Linked DNA regions of Homo sapiens: region 1 is linked to region 2. Evidence: promoter capture Hi-C in human tissues and cell types (Jung and others, 2019). All regions are on one chromosome and are shown on one strand. Each heading gives the region's core, a stretch centred on a gene start or on the middle of the fragment in contact. The rest is flanking DNA. Distances are from core to core; before and after follow the strand shown. Region 1 overlaps STK32B (serine/threonine kinase 32B). Region 2 holds the start of CYTL1 (cytokine like 1).

Evidence for each region. The method cuts DNA at HindIII sites, captures the fragments that hold promoters and counts their contacts. A contact is called where the count stands out against the background at its distance.
Region 1: a contact is called between a fragment that was not itself captured here and the fragment with the promoter of CYTL1 in region 2, in 1 of the 25 tissues and cell types used here (mesendoderm cells).

The regions. Positions count from the first base shown.
Region 1 is chr4:5,152,579-5,158,191 of GRCh38, reverse strand. All of the region lies in intron 2 of STK32B (serine/threonine kinase 32B), which reads right to left. Among named protein-coding and RNA genes, the nearest start is that of STK32B, 100 kb to the right of the region's middle. RefSeq lists an enhancer at 3,537-4,038. The HindIII fragment of the contact is 4,803 bases long and covers 1,742-5,613 here.
Region 2 is chr4:5,016,490-5,021,471 of GRCh38, reverse strand. CYTL1 (cytokine like 1) reads left to right here and starts at 2,014. Exons shown (of 4, transcript NM_018659.3): 1 at 2,014-2,179; 2 at 4,293-4,337; 3 at 4,508-4,636. The coding sequence starts at 2,027. It also overlaps a transcript of STK32B not described here. The HindIII fragment of the contact is 2,782 bases long and covers 1-2,742 here.

The DNA of each region.
Region 1 (5,613 bases), core at 2,894-5,393, 130 kb before region 2:
TATGAGAAGATGCTGAGAAGTGCAGATGAGCAATGAGGTCCACCAAGCTGGTCAGTAATGGATCATCTACTCTGGCCGACGCTTGCAAGCCATTCATGAGTGAGCCTGCATTTCCTGTGATATTTAGCTCCTAATAAAGTGATCCCCAGGAGCTGACACATTCCTCCAAAGTATGCCTCAAGCCAAACACAACCTAATTCATATGAAATGAATAAATATTTCATTAAAAAGAAATGGATTCCAACCTTCATGAAGATGTCTGCATGAACAATGAAGGCTTCTAGTAAATGCATCATTGTTAAGAATTCCAAAGATGATTCCTACATAGGAATAGCAGCTAACGTGAGGCTCAGAGAAGTTAGGCAACTTGACCAGAGTCATGTGGCTGGGCCAGAATTCCAACTCGGCTCTGTCAACCTTTGCAGTCAAAACTGTTTAATAAGCTCTAAGCTAATTAACTCATTCAGTTCCCTACAAAGAGCAACCACACATTCTAAGTCCTCGCTTGTGGCAGACACAGTGCTGGGCACTGGAGATACACAGCCTGCTACATGCTCCACTGCTAACTCTGTTCCTGCCTCAGGACCTTTGCATCTGGTGCTCTTTTGGTCTGTGATGACCTTTTCCCCAGATCCCCACGTGGCCCATTTCTTTCTCAGCAGTTGGGTCTTAGCTCAAATTTCTCCTCTCGGAGAGGCTGTCTCTGTTGCCCTCACCCCCACTGAAGCAGTCCCACCCTTGCAGGTCACTGCACTACACATTTTCTGCAGAGCAGCTATCATCAATGGAAATCATCATACTTATTGTTTATATGTCAGTCTGCTTCTTCTACTAAACTGTCAGTTCTTCAGTGTCAGGAACCTTGTTCAGCTTTTTTTTTTTTTTTTTTTTTACATCCTCACAGGTAGCTAGAGTAAGACCAGGGCAGAGCAGTGATCCGTGAACATTAACTGTTGAACTCAGTATCCTGCCAGGCATTCCAGCATGCTCCCATTATCTTAGAGACCCAGTACCTTGAAAGATCAATAAGATTCTAAAAGAATACATTTTTAAGGAAAACCCTGATAAGCCAAATGCTTTTGAACATTGAACCTTACAAACATTCATCTAAAATCGAATTCCTGCTAATTCCCAAATGGATTTGTTACAGTCTGGGCACTAAATTGGTTAGTCTGCTATTAATCAAATCTTTTTTTTTTCACACTCTGAATTCACATGCAGCTGTGAGAGCCTGCAAAGAGTCTTTCCTTATTCTCATGTGGAATGAGACAAGTAATAATATGCTTGGGTCTGGAAATGATCATCATTGCATAATAAGGCGGTATGGAGTCTGGAATTATCATTTGTACAACTCTTGCTCAAGTTTATCCAGAATCTTCCTTTGAGGGGCATAAAGAGCTATTATCATATAACACTGTGCCATTTTCTGCCATTTTATGTGCAGACTGCCTCCAGCTATCCCATGAATTTTAATTAACTCCACGTTTACTTCACTTTGACCCTGCAGCTCTTCAAGCAGAGGGCCCACGTGCCAATCCAAGAAGACACTTTCGAAGCTCACTCCTCAGAGTCCTCCCAAAGGTATCCTCCTCCTTCCCTCAGAAATAACGAAGCCCTGCTGACTACAGAGTTAACTCAAAGTGGAGCACTTCACCGTGGACGCTCCTGCTGGCTCAGCCATCAAAGGGGTCAAGAGGAGCCAATGGAGAGTGAAGAGTAGGGGCTGGACGAGGGTGAGTGGAAATAGAGGAGTGTCTGTGCGAAGTAAATTTGCATGCAGAGGAGTGGGAGAAACTCACCTCTGCGTGCTAACCCTGAGTCAATCAATATAAACCATGTGTCAAAATCGTATCTGTTGATTGGTTAATTGTTAAGTTCTTCATTCATTTATATTTATTTATTTATATAATATTCATGCATTTATATTATATATGTTATCTGTATCATAGATCAATGTATGTGTATACGCTATATGTGTAAGTGTATGTACATATAGACCACTTCAGTGGTGTATGCATATGTGTATATGTATACACATATACATATGAGTGTGTATATGTATATGTGTATACATATACATTGAGTGTATATATGTATATGCATATACATGTATGTGTATCTATGAATATGTGTACTGTATGTGTTTTGTGGTGGATCTATAGGTATATGTACATATATACTGTTTAGTGGGTATATATATTATGTAGAGAGGTATATATGTATATGCATATCTATGTATATGTATATGCACGTGTACATATTGCTTAGACACTGTGTATATATGTGAACTGTTTAGTGGGTATATTAGTCTGTTCTCACACTGCTATAAAGATACTACCTGAGACTGGGTAATTTATAAAGAAAAGAGGTTTAATTGACTCACAGTTCCGTTTGGCCAGGGAGGCCTCAGGAAACTTACAATCATGGCGAAAGATGAAGGGAAAGCAGGCACCTTCTTCACAAGGCAGGAGGAGAAAGAGAGCAAGGAAGTGCCACACCTTAAAACCATCAGCTCTCGTGAGAATTCACTATCATGAGAACAGCATGGGGGAAACCGCCCCCAGGAACCAGTCACCTCCCACCAGGCCCCTCCCTTGACAGGTAGGGATTACAATTCGAGATGAGATTTGGGTGGGGACACAGAGCCAAACCATATCGGTGGGTATGCCTAATGTATATGCATATACATATGTGTGTCTCTATAAACTGCATGATAGGTAGGTATATGTACATATATGTGCATGTGAGTGTGTGTGTGCATGTATACTGCTTAGCAGGAGCTAGGGATAAAACAGCGAACAAGAGGAAACATTGCTGCCCTCAAAGAGCTTATGTTCTGGTGCATGAGACCCATAACCAAGAAGACATCTGAATAAACACATAATAGAATCACAGGTAGTTTATAGGTGCTATAAAGAAAAGGGGAAGAGAAGGGCAAGGAAATATGGAAGGTTGAGGTGGAGACGAAGAGGGTGGGCATTCTGGGAAGGCGCCACAGAGTGGACATCTCAGCAGAGCCCTGTATGCTATAAGTGAGCCTTGCAAACACCTGGGGGAAAGGTGACTGAGGTGGAGAGAAGAGCAAGTGTGAAGGTTCTGAGGTAGAAATAACTCCAGTGTGGTCAAGAGACTTGAAGAAGGGCTGGAACAGAATGAGCAGGAAGACAGAGAGGATAGAAAGCAGAGTCAGAAAAACAGGCACAGGCCAGACTGCATGACCTTGTGGCCTGGCATGGAGGGACTGGCACATATCCCGAGTGGGAGGGAGGCAGCAACCAAGCAAGCTAATTCATGATTTGCGCACATCCCTGGCTGCTGTCTAGACCAAGAGTTGCTGTCCTCTTCCCTCTCTCACCCGAGCACTCACTAAGCCAGCACTTACTGAGCCTTTACCACATGTTGGGCACCAAGCTAAGTGCGGATGGGCATGACCAGGTCCCAGCCCCTTGGGAATCTCAGTCACATGGAGAAGGCAGATCAGCAGCCCAGAAGCCATGCCTGGCGCTGCTGTGTGAGAGAGATGGTGAGGATGACACTAGGAGCACCAGACACAGGAAGGGCCTCAGTCCCAGGTCTTCTCCCTGGCATGTTCCTCCATGTGGATACCCAGATCCTTCTAGAACCCACCAAGCCAAGTAAAATCCTAGCCATGCTGGCTTCAAGAAGACATGGAAACCAGTCAAGCTCGGTGGTTCACGCCTGTAATCCCAGCACTTTGGGAGGCTGAGGCTGGTGGATCACCTGAGGTCAGGAGTTCAAGACCAGCCTGACCAACATGGTGAAACGCCATCTCTACTAAAAATACAAAATTAACCGGGCCTGGTGGCACATGCCTCTAATCTCAGCTACTTGGGAGGCTGAGGCAGCAGAATCACTTGAACCCAGGAGGGAGAGGTGGCAGTGAGCCAAGATCGTGCCATTGCACTCCAGCCTGGGCAACAAGAGCGAAACTCTGTCATGAAAAAAAAAAAAAAAAAAAAGACATGGAAGGCATTTGAAAAAGGCCATCCAGCCATAGATTAGTAGGACTCTCAAATTCCATTATTATTCATGCTTATTCTTTCATCAATAACATACTGTCTCAATCATTGTAGGTTCACAGTACATCTTGATATTGGGTAATATACCTCTACAACTTTGATCTTGTTTTACAAAATTGTTTTAGCTCTTCTAGATCCTTTACTTTTCATATAAATTTTAGAATCTAGTATAGATAACTATAAAAAATCTTCTGTGACTTTGATTACAGAACCAAAATCAAATCTGTATATAAGTTTGCAGAGAATTGCCATCTTAATAAAAATAAATATTCCAAAGCATAAACATAGTTTTTTATATTGACTTTGTATTCTTCAAGCTTGCTATACTCATATTTTCATTCTAGTAGACATTTTGTAGTTTCTTTGATGTTTTCCATGTAGAAAAAACATAAGTCTGTGAATAGAGACAGTTCTGTTTATTCATAGTAAATCTGTATGATTTTATTTTCTTATTGTAATAGCTAGGACATTTGTTGATGTGTATAGGTGTGGCAAGAGTCATATCTTTGCCTTGTTTCTACTTTGGAAAAGCATTTAATCTTTCAGCATTATATAAAATGTTTTTGTATGTTTTTGGTAAATGCTTTTTATCAGGTCGAGAGAGTTCCTTCTAGGCCCTACTTTCTTTAGAGCTTTTTTTTTCCACCAATGAATGTTGAAGTTTACCAAATTAAAAAAAAAAAAGGAAAGAAAAAGGCCATCCACACGCCAGGTACCATGCTGAGGGCTGAACATTGTTTGCCCCCTTATTCTCACATAAGAACCTAAAGTCCATTATCCATTATAATCATTACTTTTTCTCAGAAGACAAAAGGGAGGGTTGCAGGAGCCACATGATTGGTCCAAGTTTCCATGACTGGAAGAAGCAGGCTCTGACCCAGAGCCAGACCTCCCCAATCTGGAAGCCTGTACCCTTTCCTCTATGCCCTGTTGCATCCAAAACCAAATGTCTGTCATTGGACACTGATGGACATTTTCCTCCTGACCCCACTTGTTTCCAGCAGATGTGCCTGTGATAGAAGCCAGTTTCAACGTCACTTCTGTATCTGGGAGGGACATTTGAAAATAAAACAGGCTGTGCATGGCAGTGGGGTCCTCTCCAGGACGCGGATTCATCATTTGTAAAACGGGGATAATAACATCCATCATACTGGGCTATTAGTGGGACAAGGTAGACAATGGGTCTCCAGTTGCCAGGACCATCACTGTTAGTTTCTGATTAGTCAGGACTCTTTAGGTGGCAAATACTGGAAGCCCAACATGATCTCACCGAGCAGAAAACAATGTTAGTTTCTATAGCTGGTAAGGACAGTGGGTAATTCATGGGAATAGGAAAATAAGAAGGTGGCAGTGCTGCTGTGTCCACCCAGGTCCCTCTCATCACATCCACACACCTCAGGCTTACTATGACACCTGCAATGGCCTGCAAAGAGCAAGCCAAAGGTGCAGGACAGGCAATGCTGCACGGGCAGCCCTCCACTGTCACCGAATGAGAACTGCGTATCCACGCATTAGCTTTTCATCTACAGCCACCAGACACACACTCTGCACTGTCTCCTGACATCCTCCATGG
Region 2 (4,982 bases), core at 765-3,264:
GAGGCCCATGCCCCAGGCACTATCATGGAGGGAGTGTGGAGACTCCTTCACCCAGAAGAAAACACATCTGTGCCTCCACTTGCCACCTCCAAGCACACACAGTTCTGCCCGAAGGCCGCGGTCCCTATGTCATCTTGCTAAAGGTGTTTAGAGAACACATTCTCACCTACAAAACAGGAAGGCACAGCTTACAGTCCCTGCCCAGGGCTTTTACCACCAGAAACTAGATAAATAAAACACTGGGGCTGGAAGGAACCTCAGACATCGCCCAGCGTGATGCTATCCTGTTTACAGACAGGGAATGGAGGCCAGGTCGAGAAGGGATTTCTCCTGGCAAATACAGTGGGGACAAGCTGGAGCCGGGCTTCATCCCTGTGGTTGATCCTCAGTCCAGCCCTGTGTCCAGGATGCCATGCTCTGGTTCACCCATCCCTGTGGGCTGCATCTTTGGTTGTTTTGTTCTGGGAATGTGGAGCTTGCCCAGGATGCTCCCCTTTCCTCCTTTGTTGGAGGAAGCTTTGGAGGCAGGAAAGTCCAGACATAGCTCCAGGGCTCCACTGCTCTTCCCAGCTTCACATCCCCCGAGGCCCTCAGTTTCCTCGCCTGGGAATTGGGAATAACCCCATTCACTTCATTGGCTGGCTGTGAGGGTCATAGCGTTCCCAATGGCAGCTGGCCTGGTGGCTGCTGGTATGTAAGTCATGTTCAGTGTTAAGGAAGAATCTTCTCCCTTTTGACAGTTCCTTCTTGCTTGTTGCCTGATCTTGGGCAGCCTGAGGACCCCAACTCATCTCTGCCTGCAAGAGTCCTGCTCCTCACCCATCCTGCCCTGTGGGATGGAAGAATGGCAGGAGGACAGGGCCTGAAGTCTCATCCCAACCCATGTGCCTCCAGCTTTGTGACCTCCAGCAAGTTGCTGGAACTCTTGAGCCTCAGTTTTCCCACCTGGAAAATGGGACTCTTTTCTGTGGCACCTACCTCACAGAGACAATTGCTGGATTTAACAGAGACAGTGCTATTAGCTCCGATCACTTGGAAACACACAATGGGCCTGGCATGAGGCTTGCTCAGTCATGCTATATCCTGTTGATTCCTCACTATGGCCTTTTGAGTGAGCCACTCTCACCAGCCTCATCTCACAGATAAGGAGATGGAGGAAACACTGAAGAAACTTGCCCAAGGTCAAAGCCAGAAGGCGGTGACCCTGCTTTGCACCCACGGCGTCTAAGTGGAGAGCCTAGACCTTTACCTGCCACTGTCTTGGGAAGTTAGCCCTGAGGGAGATGCACTTCTTGAAAACTAACCCTTCCTGAGGGTCTGCTCTCCCTCGGGGCCTGTGCTGGGAGCTTGAGGTAGAAGAGGGTGGGGGTACTCACACTCCCCACACATACGGCCGCTCAGTGAGCCCATCCTCCGGACCGAGAGACACACACGGCTTCTGAGAGGCTGGGGGCCCTGGCCCAAGGCTCACCTACCTGGTTAGCGATTGATGGACGAGGACACCGGTGGCCTGACCGCAGCTCTGCATCCCTGCTCCACTGCGGGCTGCCTGGAGGGAGGGATGCTCAGTCATCCCCTGCTAGTCCCTTTCCCTCCTGGCACTATATCCATTTTGACAAACCGTGCCATCCAAACCCAGGCCTGACTGCCCACTCCTCTCCTCTGACCCTCCCCTCCTTCCATCTCTGTCCTCCTCTTATCCCCCACCCCTCTCCATCTGCTGTTCCTGCCTTTTCAGGAAAAGTCCCTGTGCAGAAAGAAATTTCTTGCTGAAAGTGTGGGGGAGGCAAAGCCACCCTCTGTCACCCCCTCCTCCAGGCAGCCCCTCCTCTTAACCTGGGGCTTTCGTGTCTGAGAGGATTCCTGTCCCGACCCTGCCCGGTGGGCGTGCTGGCTTCCTCTCTGCCACCCTGGATGGACCGCAGCCTGCGCTGGCCCCACAGGAAGTGGAGGCGTGGAGCCGCCCTGGACCACCCCCAGCCTGCATAAAGGGGCGGTCGGCGAGGCTGCACCAGCGCCTGGCACCATGAGGACGCCTGGGCCTCTGCCCGTGCTGCTGCTGCTCCTGGCGGGAGCCCCCGCCGCGCGGCCCACTCCCCCGACCTGCTACTCCCGCATGCGGGCCCTGAGCCAGGAGATCACCCGCGACTTCAACCTCCTGCAGGTCTCGGAGCCCTCGGTGAGTCCCCCGCCCGCTCAGGACAGGGGTGCATGGCAGACCCAGTTCTTAAACCCTTGCCTTTACACGAAAAAAAAAAGAGAGAGAGAGAGAAAAGGATATTTTTCTTTTCTAGTAAATGTAAATCTCAGGAGTATTTGTGTTTTATTCATCTCCTTTTAAATATGATACCAATGGTTTGCTTTCTTCAAAACACAAGAAAAAGTAAAGACAACACAATTTTTGTGACTTACTAGCAAATATCAAAGGATCTGTTGTAAAATGTAAAAAAAAAAAAAAAAAAAAAAAAGAAAAAAGAAAAAAAAAGGAGTGGGAGGATGGGGAGAAAAACAGCTCCCCATCAGAGTTAAGGAGGACGGAGGAATGAAGCTTGTGTATTGCTTTTGTTAGCCTAGTGAGGAGTGTGCCCTAAGAGGTGGCTCACAGAACTGGCCTCCGCCCCTCATCTGCTGAGGGACCCGGGCAAATTTCTCAGCCTCTGCCTTTCAGTTTTCTTGTCTGTAAAATGGGATGACAGTAGCACCCCTCCCTTTAGAGTGGCTTTGACGATCAAAGGCAGGTGTGAACACAGGCAGGGCTCACAGAGCCAAGCCTACAGGAACAAGTACTCAACAGATGCCAGCTGATGTGAGCACGATCTTCAGAGGCAGATCTGGGGACTCAGAGAGGGGAAGACCCGGGAGGGCTTTTGGGGACTAGAACCCAGGCCTCTGCCTGCTTCTCCGTCGAAACAAAATGCATTAAACTTCATTAAAAGCTTTTGTAAAGTTTCAAAGTGTCTTTTAATCACTTGCAAATGCTTCAAACAAAACATAATGTTTCTCAGATGTTGGGGTTTACAAAAGCCTAGCTAACACCTTCTTGGTATTTTCTTTTTAAAAGTTAAATAACATGTATTTTTTCCCTAATTATAAAAGTATTGTACTTTGTAGAACAGTTGGAAAATAAAGTACAAAGAAGAAAAAAAATCTTGCTTGTAATTCTACCACCTAGAGGTAGCTGCTGCCGTAGCATTGTGGAGGATCATATTTCAGCTTTCTGTCTACATATAGGTATTCAAATACGTGTGTGTTGTGTGTGTGTGTGTGTGTAAACAAAATTTGGGTCAAACAGCACAAGCAGTTTTGCAACTTACTTTTTAATGACACTATCAAATAAGTTCATTTTTGTTTTAACATTTTGTTGTACAGTTTCACCACAATTTACCCACAAGTTTCTTGTTATCGAATATAGACAGCAATCATCTTTTAAAGGAATCTGATTTTAAAAGGTTTAAAAAGTTCAGAGGCTCTGAACCACAGAGCGGGAAGAAAGTGGAAAGATTATGCATTCTAAATCTCTAATTTCACAACTGAGGACTGAAGGAAGGCACTTGCCCATGGTCACACGGGGATTACTGAGAGGGCAGAGCACGAGGGCTTTTGCCCTTCAGCCCTGCGCAAAAACGGAAGCCCAATATAGAAATATAAAAGTATGCAAATTTATGCACTTCGATATTACTATATTATACACTATATACAACTACATATTAGCTATAGAATGCCTATAGAACAATAGGTATTATTACATATATCGTACTTATGTAAGTATATATAATGTCTATAATTACATGCAGTTATACAACTGTTATATAGCTAATATACTTATATAAGTTATTATATAAGTATATTATTATATAAGTTACTATATAACTAACTTATACAACTGTTATATAACTAAATAGTTATAGAACTGTTTTATAGATGTACATATATACTCTGTATGTATACTTGTATTACTGTATTATATATCACTATTTCTATATTACAGTTATAGGACTGCTTTTATGTATATACGTGTATGTATATTTCTGAATGGGTATGCATATAAAACAGCTCCCTGGTTCATAGCAAATGATATAAAAGTTGTATTCTAAAAGTCTAATTCCGGAAGCGCAGTCGCCCATTTCTGGAGGAGTGTGACGTATGACACAAGAAAGTACTGTGCATGTCGTAGCATCAGGGAGGGCCCCAGGGATCTGGGCTGGTCTGGCTGTTGAGAGGGCCACTAGGGAGACTTTTGTGACCAGGTATGCCCCTGTGGGCATCCCAGAACCCCTTATCCCTTTCCACAGGAGCCATGTGTGAGATACCTGCCCAGGCTGTACCTGGACATACACGTAAGAGGGTTCTCCCTGGGGGAGGGAGGTCTTGGGCTGAGGGACTCAGGTCTGAACCTCTGCTGCTGGCTGTGTGGCACAGAGTCAGGGAGAGATCTTATGCAGCTCAGTCCCTGTTCCTCTTGCTACTGACTTCTCCCACAAGCCCCCTCCCCATTGCCCACTCCCAGAATTACTGTGTGCTGGACAAGCTGCGGGACTTTGTGGCCTCGCCCCCGTGTTGGAAAGTGGCCCAGGTAGATTCCTTGAAGGACAAAGCACGGAAGCTGTACACCATCATGAACTCGTTCTGCAGGAGAGTAAGTGGATGCCATTGAAAGTCTATTTTCTACTTGCTATCAGCCAAGACTTTCTGAGCTTTTCAAAGAGGAGAGTTGGGAGGAGATGGTGACAAGGAAGAGGAGCAGAGATGTTTCGCAGATGCTTTCAGTTCACAAAGCCCTTTCTCAACCATGGTTGCCTTGTTGGGTGATGGGGTTCAGGACAAGGCCCTTTGTCTCCATGAGCTGCGCATTGATGCAGGGGCTACACCCCAGGACCACACCCCAGCCACATAGATAGACTCTGCCAGGAGCCAAGTGAGGCAGGGTAGAGGAGACTCTGCAGGAGGAGGTTCAGGTGTGCTCTGATAAGAGGATTCCGGTA